Linked DNA regions of Homo sapiens: region 2 is linked to region 1. Evidence: promoter capture Hi-C in 16 types of primary human blood cells and fetal thymus (Javierre and others, 2016). All regions are on one chromosome and are shown on one strand. Each heading gives the region's core, a stretch centred on a gene start or on the middle of the fragment in contact. The rest is flanking DNA. Distances are from core to core; before and after follow the strand shown.

What was found. The method cuts DNA at HindIII sites, captures the fragments that hold promoters and counts their contacts. A CHiCAGO score of 5 or more calls a contact.
Region 2: a fragment that was not itself captured here is called in contact with the fragment with the promoter of LYZ in region 1 in 1 of 17 cell types (M2 macrophages); the score reaches 5.6 in M2 macrophages.

What each region holds. Positions count from the first base shown.
Region 1 is chr12:69,346,241-69,350,033 of GRCh38, forward strand. LYZ (lysozyme) reads left to right here and starts at 2,141. Exons shown (of 4, transcript NM_000239.3): 1 at 2,141-2,304. The coding sequence starts at 2,169. The HindIII fragment of the contact is 11,988 bases long and covers 1-3,793 here.
Region 2 is chr12:70,351,407-70,355,199 of GRCh38, forward strand. CNOT2 (CCR4-NOT transcription complex subunit 2) reads left to right here. Exons shown (of 16, transcript NM_014515.7): 16 at 2,423-3,587. The coding sequence ends at 2,509. Among named protein-coding and RNA genes, the nearest start is that of KCNMB4, 13 kb to the right of the region's middle. RefSeq lists a silencer at 629-829. The HindIII fragment of the contact is 1,812 bases long and covers 1,230-3,041 here.

The DNA.
Region 1 (3,793 bases), core at 891-3,390:
ACAAGCACATTTTTAAATTTTTTTTTATTTTTAGTAAATATAGGGTTTTGCCATGTTGCCCAGGCTGGTCTCCAACTCCTGGTCTCAAGCAGTCCTCCTGCCTCGGCCTCCCATAGTGCTGGAAATACAGGCATGAGCCACTGCGCCCAGCCAAGACTAACTCTTTTAATTGGTTTCTGTCTCTTTGGGTCCTGAAAATCTGTCTCACTATTTATTATTATTATTATTATTATTATTATTTGAGACAGAGTCTCACTCTCTTTCCCAGGCTGGAGTGCAATGGCACAATCTCGGCTCACTGCAACCTCCGCCTCCTCGGTTCAAGCGATTCTCCTGCCTCAGCATCCCAGGTAGCTGGGATTATAGGCACCCACCACCACACCCAACTAATTTTTCTATTTTTCGTAGAGACGGGGTTTCACCATGCTGGCCAGGCTGGTCTCGAACTCCTGACCTCAGGTGATCAGCCTGCCTTGGGCTTTCAAAGTGCTGGGATTACAGGCATGAGCCACCGCAGCTGGCCATTTTTTTTTTCTTTCTTTTTTTTTTTTTTTTTTTTGAGACAGAGTCTCACTCTGTTGCCCAGGCTGGAGTGCAGTGGTGTGATCTCAGTTCACCACAACCTCCGCCTCCCGGGTTCAAGTAATTCTCCTGCCTCAGCCTCCCAAGTAGCTGGAATTATAGGCGCACCACCACGCCCAGCTAATTTTGTATTTTTAGTAGAGACGGAGTTTCACCATGTTGGCCAGGCTGGTCTTGAACGCCTGACCTCAGGTGATCCACCCACCTCAGCCTCCCAAAGTGCTGGGATTACAGGCATGAGCCACTGCACCTGGCCCTATTTATTATTGAAGAATCAAAATTAGGCCTAGCCTGAAAAATGAGATTATTCTTGATTTTTGAACAGGGTCCTTGAACTGTCATTTAAAACCAAATCTGGTAATCTTTAGAGGCCACTGATGAAAAATAAGGGTAACTACAAAGTGATGACACTTTGTGTGGCTCAGAATCTGTCCTCTTAGGCAGATACAGAAGTGCAGTTCTTTTTGAGTTCTGGTAGCATTGTTTTAAAAGCTGTGCACAGCCTCCTGAGATTGCTATTTTCAAAGGTAGCATTTAGTTGGATATATGTTTGGGTAGGTTTTATTTTTAAAATGCTGTTGCTTTCTAATGACCCCTTATGTTCTAATATGGAAAGGGGAGGCAAAGTATTGTGAAAAGTAGTTGGTAAAGTAGGCCGGATGTGGTGGCTCACACCTGTAATCCCAGCACTTTGGAAGGCCGAGGCGGGCGGATCACGAGGTCAAGAGATCCAGACCATCCTGGCCACATGGTGAAACCCTGTCTCTACTAAAAATACAAAAATTAGCTGGGCATGGTGGTACATGCCTGTAGTCCCAGCTACCTGGGAGGCTGAGGCAGGAGAATTGCTTGAACCCGGGAGGCAGAGGTTGCAATGAACTGAGATTGCGCCACTGCACTCCAGCCTGGTGACAGAGTAAGACTCCATCTCAAAAAAAAAAAAAAAAAGGTAGTTGGTAAAGTTGTTCACATGAACCTTATTTATAATAGTAAAACACTGATTTATAATAATAAAAAATTTGCTATAGTAACAAAAAGAGTCTAGAGTAAGAAACTAGCTGAGCAACGTGGTGTCACACTATACACCCATTAAGACAACAGGCACATGTGTCATGTCCATTTTGTGGAAAAGATATGTAAAATAATTTTAAGTAAAAAAGATAAATATAAAAAAGTGAATGCATACAAAACAATTTCACAAAATTGAATGTTACTCAAAAATCACAGCTCATTTTAAGCTGCACAAAATAGTCATTTTTTTCTTTATAATTGCTCAAATTCATAATCAAACAGAAGAAAGTTCCTGTCTTGGAAGTAGTGCTATGCCCCAATTCTTCCAGAGCCAGTACTTTAAACAATTCCATTTCATTATTTTCCTGTAGACTAATTCTTAGGACATCAGCATATCTCTCTTCAAGCATTAAAAAAATCTCTTTAGAGTCAGTGGATCAATAGACAGTTCCTGTTTTCCACACAACTGAAAGGGTGGAGCCCCCAAACCACAAGGGGAAGAAGGAAGTTAAAAGATGTTAAATACTGGGGCCAGCTCACCCTGGTCAGCCTAGCACTCTGACCTAGCAGTCAACATGAAGGCTCTCATTGTTCTGGGGCTTGTCCTCCTTTCTGTTACGGTCCAGGGCAAGGTCTTTGAAAGGTGTGAGTTGGCCAGAACTCTGAAAAGATTGGGAATGGATGGCTACAGGGGAATCAGCCTAGCAAACTGTAAGTCTACTCTCCATAATTCCAGAGAATTAGCTACGTATGGAACAGACACTAGGAGAGAAGGAAGAAGAAGAAGGGGCTTTGAGTGAATAGATGTTTTATTTCTTTGTGGGTTTGTATACTTACAATGGCTAAAAACATCAGTTTGGTTCTTTATAACCAGAGATACCCGATAAAGGAATACGGGCATGGCAGGGGAAAATTCCATTCTAAGTAAAACAGGACCTGTTGTACTGTTCTAGTGCTAGGAAGTTTGCTGGGTGCCTGAGATTCAATGGCACATGTAAGCTGACTGAAAGATACATTTGAGGACCTGGCAGAGCTCTCTCAAGTCCTTGGTATGTGACTCCAGTTATTTCCCATTTTGAACTTGGGCTCTGAGAGCCTAGAGTGATGCAGTATTTTTCTTGTCTTCAAGTCCCCTGCCGTGATGTGGGATTTTTATTTTTATTTTTATTTTATTTTATTTTATTTTTAAAGACAGTCTCACTGTGTGGCCCAGGCTGGAGTGCAGTGGCATGATCTCAGCTCACTGCAACCTCTGCCTTCTGGGCTCAAGTGATTCTCGTGCTTCAGCCTTCTGAGTAGCTGTGACTACAGGTGTGTACCACCACACCCAGCTAATTTTTTGTATTTTCAGTACAGATGGGGTTTCACCATGTTGGCCAAGCTGGTCTTGAACTCCTGGCCTCAAATGATCTGCCCACCTCAGCCTCCCAAAGTGGTAGGATTACAGGTGTGAACCACTGCACCCAGCCGACATGGGATTTTTAACAGTGATGTTTTTAAAGAATATATTGAATTCCCTACACAAGAGCAGTAGGAACCTAGTTCCCTTCAGTCACTCTTTGTATAGGATCCCAGAAACTCAGCATGAAATGTTTTATTATTTTTATCTACTCTACTTGATTAACTATCTTTCATTTTCTCCCACACAATTCAAGATGTGCCATGAGGAAAAGTTATTTTATAGTTTAGTACATAGTTGTCGATGTAATAATCTCTGTAGTTTTCAGATTGAATTCAGACATTTCCCCTCAATAGCTATTTTTGAATGAATGAGTGAAGGGATGAAATCACGGAATAGTCTTGTTTTCAAGATTCTAACTTGATATCCAAATTCACCTTTAGATATTATAAGAAAATTTCTATCAGAAAATCCTTATGTTTTTCTGATTAAAAAAAGCATTTTTCCATCAGCCTATGTATCTGCTATGAATTTACAAAATCTACTCAACAGCTCTGTTGATTTTTCTGTTCTTGGCTGAATGTTGCCTGAGGGATGGGAGCACGGGAAGGGTAAAAGCAATGGAACAAACATGTATTTTAATATTTTAAAAGTATGTTATATTGTTCGTTGGTGTTACAAGATGATTTGCATTACAAAAGGATTCTCTTACAAGTCCCTTATCTTAACACTAAAGTGCTAAGATATTTTATAAGTAAATCTTTATACTTATAAAACAAATCAGTAAAATAGAAGTAGCTA
Region 2 (3,793 bases), core at 886-3,385, 1.0 Mb after region 1:
TATGTATTTTAAGAAGAATAAAAGTACGTGGAAAACAAGATTTTAAAACGTGGAAGGCAAAATTTTACCTATGTAATTTCTAAATCTCTGATCTCTATATCAAAATTTCTAAATCTCTATATCAAAATTATTTACGCTGCTTAGGTTTAAACTATATTTTTCTGGGGGAAAATGTACATTGATAAAGTTAATCTAGTTTGAATTCCTAGTCATACATTGTAGTTCATCAATGTGAAAAATTTTAGTTAACTTACTCAGTATAACTTACCACTTTGTGGAAGTTACAATTAGACTTTTTTTCCCTGTAACTACACATTTTGAAAACAAAAATGCCAATTTTAATTTCAGAAGAATGATAACAAATTTTCTTCACGAATTCAGATAGTCAACTTGAACCAAGCAATAAAATTATTTTAATTCCTAGCTAGGGCTGGGAGAGGGGGAGTAGTGCTACACAGTGTATTAGGGCAGGATGTCATGGTTGTGGTGGTGATTCTGGTGTTTGCTAATTTTTACTGATAAGCAAATAACCTCTGTGTCTTAATTACTGTACCAGTCACATGAAGGCAACCTTTTCAGGCTAAAGTCACCATGGTGTACCTTCTTTATAAACTCTCAGGGGACTGATTTTTTTTTTCCTTTTTCTTCACCTTATACCAAGAGAGAAGGGGACTGAATTCTTTCAGCATTTCTGGATTGCCTTGTAATGAAGTAAATGAATCTGTTTTGGATCTTGGACTAAAAATATTAAAAATAATGTGTTACACTACAAAAGACACAGGCTTTTTGTCACATGGAGGCTTTTTGTCACATGGGTCTGGATCCTAATGCTAGGTGTGCCGCTTACTGATGACTTGTCCAAGTTACTTGTAAGCCTCATTTTCTTCAGGTACAAAATGAAAATAATGATATCTGCTTTACAGAATTATTACAAAGATTAGAATAAAATTAGCTGTATCTCTAATTTTAGCACATACTAGGCTTTCAATAAATTCTGCTGTTAGGTCTGTAATATCTTTAAATTTATTTAAGTGTAATATCTTTAAATTTTAAATACTTGGTGTTCCATCTTAAAATTTGGTCATTATAGTCTAGGTTTTCATTTTAATTTAATAATGGAAATACTCATCATGGAATCAGTTTGAAACCAGACAGATAAGGTAAAATATGTTAACCCATGGTAGCTAATGTCACTTGTTGCCTTAATCTTTAATACATAATACATATTAAGCTTCATAATTCTTTAAGTTGGATTATGCAGTAATTTGTGCTAATTCAGATGGTAGAATTGGTAAGAGGCTTTTAGAGCCTCTTGCTTATTGGGGTTGCAGAGGTATTTGTTGTTTGCATTTTTTTCTAATATACATAGCTATTCTGCATCTCTATTCTTGATCTTGGGTGGGAAGTATCATGAAGAAATTATGTCACCATTCTTAAATTTTAAAACTCATGAAGTTAATACAGTATTTTGAAAGTTTGATTAAAGTGAGCTGCTATCTAGTTTTCAAATGTTCCTACAGCAGAACCATTGTCTAGTTTTCGGTGGCAGTTGATTTATATTTGAGTCAGGGTTTTGGGTTTGTGAAATGCAAGTCTAGTGATGTGTGAGTTTTAAGTTCATTATTTTCCCCAGATTTTAATGAGGTTAGAATAATTTTATGTGTTTTCCTTTTTTTTTTTTTTTTAGACGGAGTCTTGCTTTGTCATCTGGGCTGGAGTGCAGTGGTGCAATCTTGGCTCACTGCAACCTCCACCTGCCAGGTTCAAGCGATTCTCCTGCCTCAGCCTCCTGAGTAGCTGCTACTACAGGCGTGCACCACTACGCCCAGCTAATTTTTGTATTTTTAGTACAGACGGGGTTTCACCATGTTGATTGGTAAAGATGGTCTTGATCTCCTGACCTCGTGATCTGCCCACCTAAGCCTCCCAAAGTGCTGGGATTACAGACGTGAGCCACTGTGCGCGGCCCTGCTTATTTTTTAATATAAATGTAATAAAGACAATTTGGAAAATTATTTCTAAACTTTTTTCATGGACAAAATCTTTAGGTTTTTATACTTCGTTGAAGGGGGCTTTATTTTAAATATCCTGTAATTTCCAGTGATTCAGAGATACAGTAATTGCCCCCTCTTTTTTTAAGTTAAAAACAATACACAACATTTCAGTGTCAAGTGGTCCATTAGTAGTCTCTTGACTTACACACAGAAAGCCTGTCTGTATTTTTTGTACTCATTGGTTAGAAACTACAGCACATTATTTTTCTTCAAGCTGTATTTTATGTAGAGGAAAAACAGTTGGTATATCTGTGTTGATGTTGATTCATATATATTGGGTATTTTATTTATTTTTATAGTAAAATGTATTTTGACAAATGTAAAATGAAAAGGGGAAGATATCTAAATTCTTGAATTTGTTTTTATAGGAGTTCCATCTGGAATATGACAAATTAGAAGAACGGCCTCACCTGCCATCCACCTTCAACTACAACCCTGCTCAGCAAGCCTTCTAAAAAAAAAAAAAAAAAAAAAAAAAGACTTCCCTTTTCTTGGGGTATGGCTGTCTCAGCACAATACTCAACATAACTGCAGAACTGATGTGGCTCAGGCACCCTGGTTTTAATTCCTTGAGGATCTGGCAATTGGCTTACGCAAAAGGTCACCATTTGAGGTCCTGCCTTACTAATTATGTGCTGCCCAACAACTAAATTTGTAATTTGTTTTTCTCTAGTTTGAGCAGGGTCTGAATTTTTTCATTTATTTCCTTTTTTGCCAGCAGACAGACTTGAGTCTGTAAAGACAAGCAAATACACTGACAGAAGTTTACCATAGTTTCTAAAATGTAAAAAAGAAAACCCCCAAAAGACTCAAGAAAATTAGACCACAAATTTTGCATTGTTCATTGTAGCACTATTGGTAATAAAATAACAAATGTTTGTGCATTTTTATGTGAAGATCCTTCTCGTATTTCATTTGGAAAGATGAGCAAGAGGTCTGCTTCCTTCATTTTACTTCCCCTTCTGTTTTTGAAAGGCAGTTTCGCCAAGCTTAATGCAAGAATATCTGACTGTTTAGAAGAAAGATATTGCCACAATCTCTGGATGGTTTTCCAGGGTTGTGTTATTACTGAGCTTCATCTTTCCAGAATGAGCAAAACACTGTCCAGTCTTTGTTACGATTTTGTAATAAATGTGTACATTTTTTTTAAATTTTTGGACATCACATGAATAAAGGTATGTATGTACGAATGTGTATATATTATATATATGACATCTATTTTGGAAAATGTTTGCCCTGCTGTACCTCATTTTTAGGAGGTGTGCATGGATGCAATATATGAAAATGGGACATTCTGGAACTGCTGGTCAGGGGACTTTGTCGCCCTGTGCACTAAAAGGGCCAGATTTTCAGCAGCCAAGGACATCCATACCCAAGTGAATGTGATGGGACTTAAAAGAAGTGAACTGAGACAATTCACTCTGGCTGTTTGAACAGCAGCGTTTCATAGGAAGAGAAAAAAAGATCAATCTTGTATTTTCTGACCACATAAAGGCTTCTTCTCTTTGTAATAAAGTAGAAAAGCTCTCCTCACTGCAGTGTTGGCTTTGATTTGAAATTGCGAAATTATTTCTTCAACATGAAAAATAGAGGAAACAAACTGAAGTTTTACAGATATCAAACTGAATGGTGTGACTCAAATGTCTTTTTCAGCTTCCAACAAGTAATTTAATGGAAATATAGTGAACCGTTTCACTTGTAGGTTAAAAATGTAGACAGTATTAATCAGAGAAAACTTT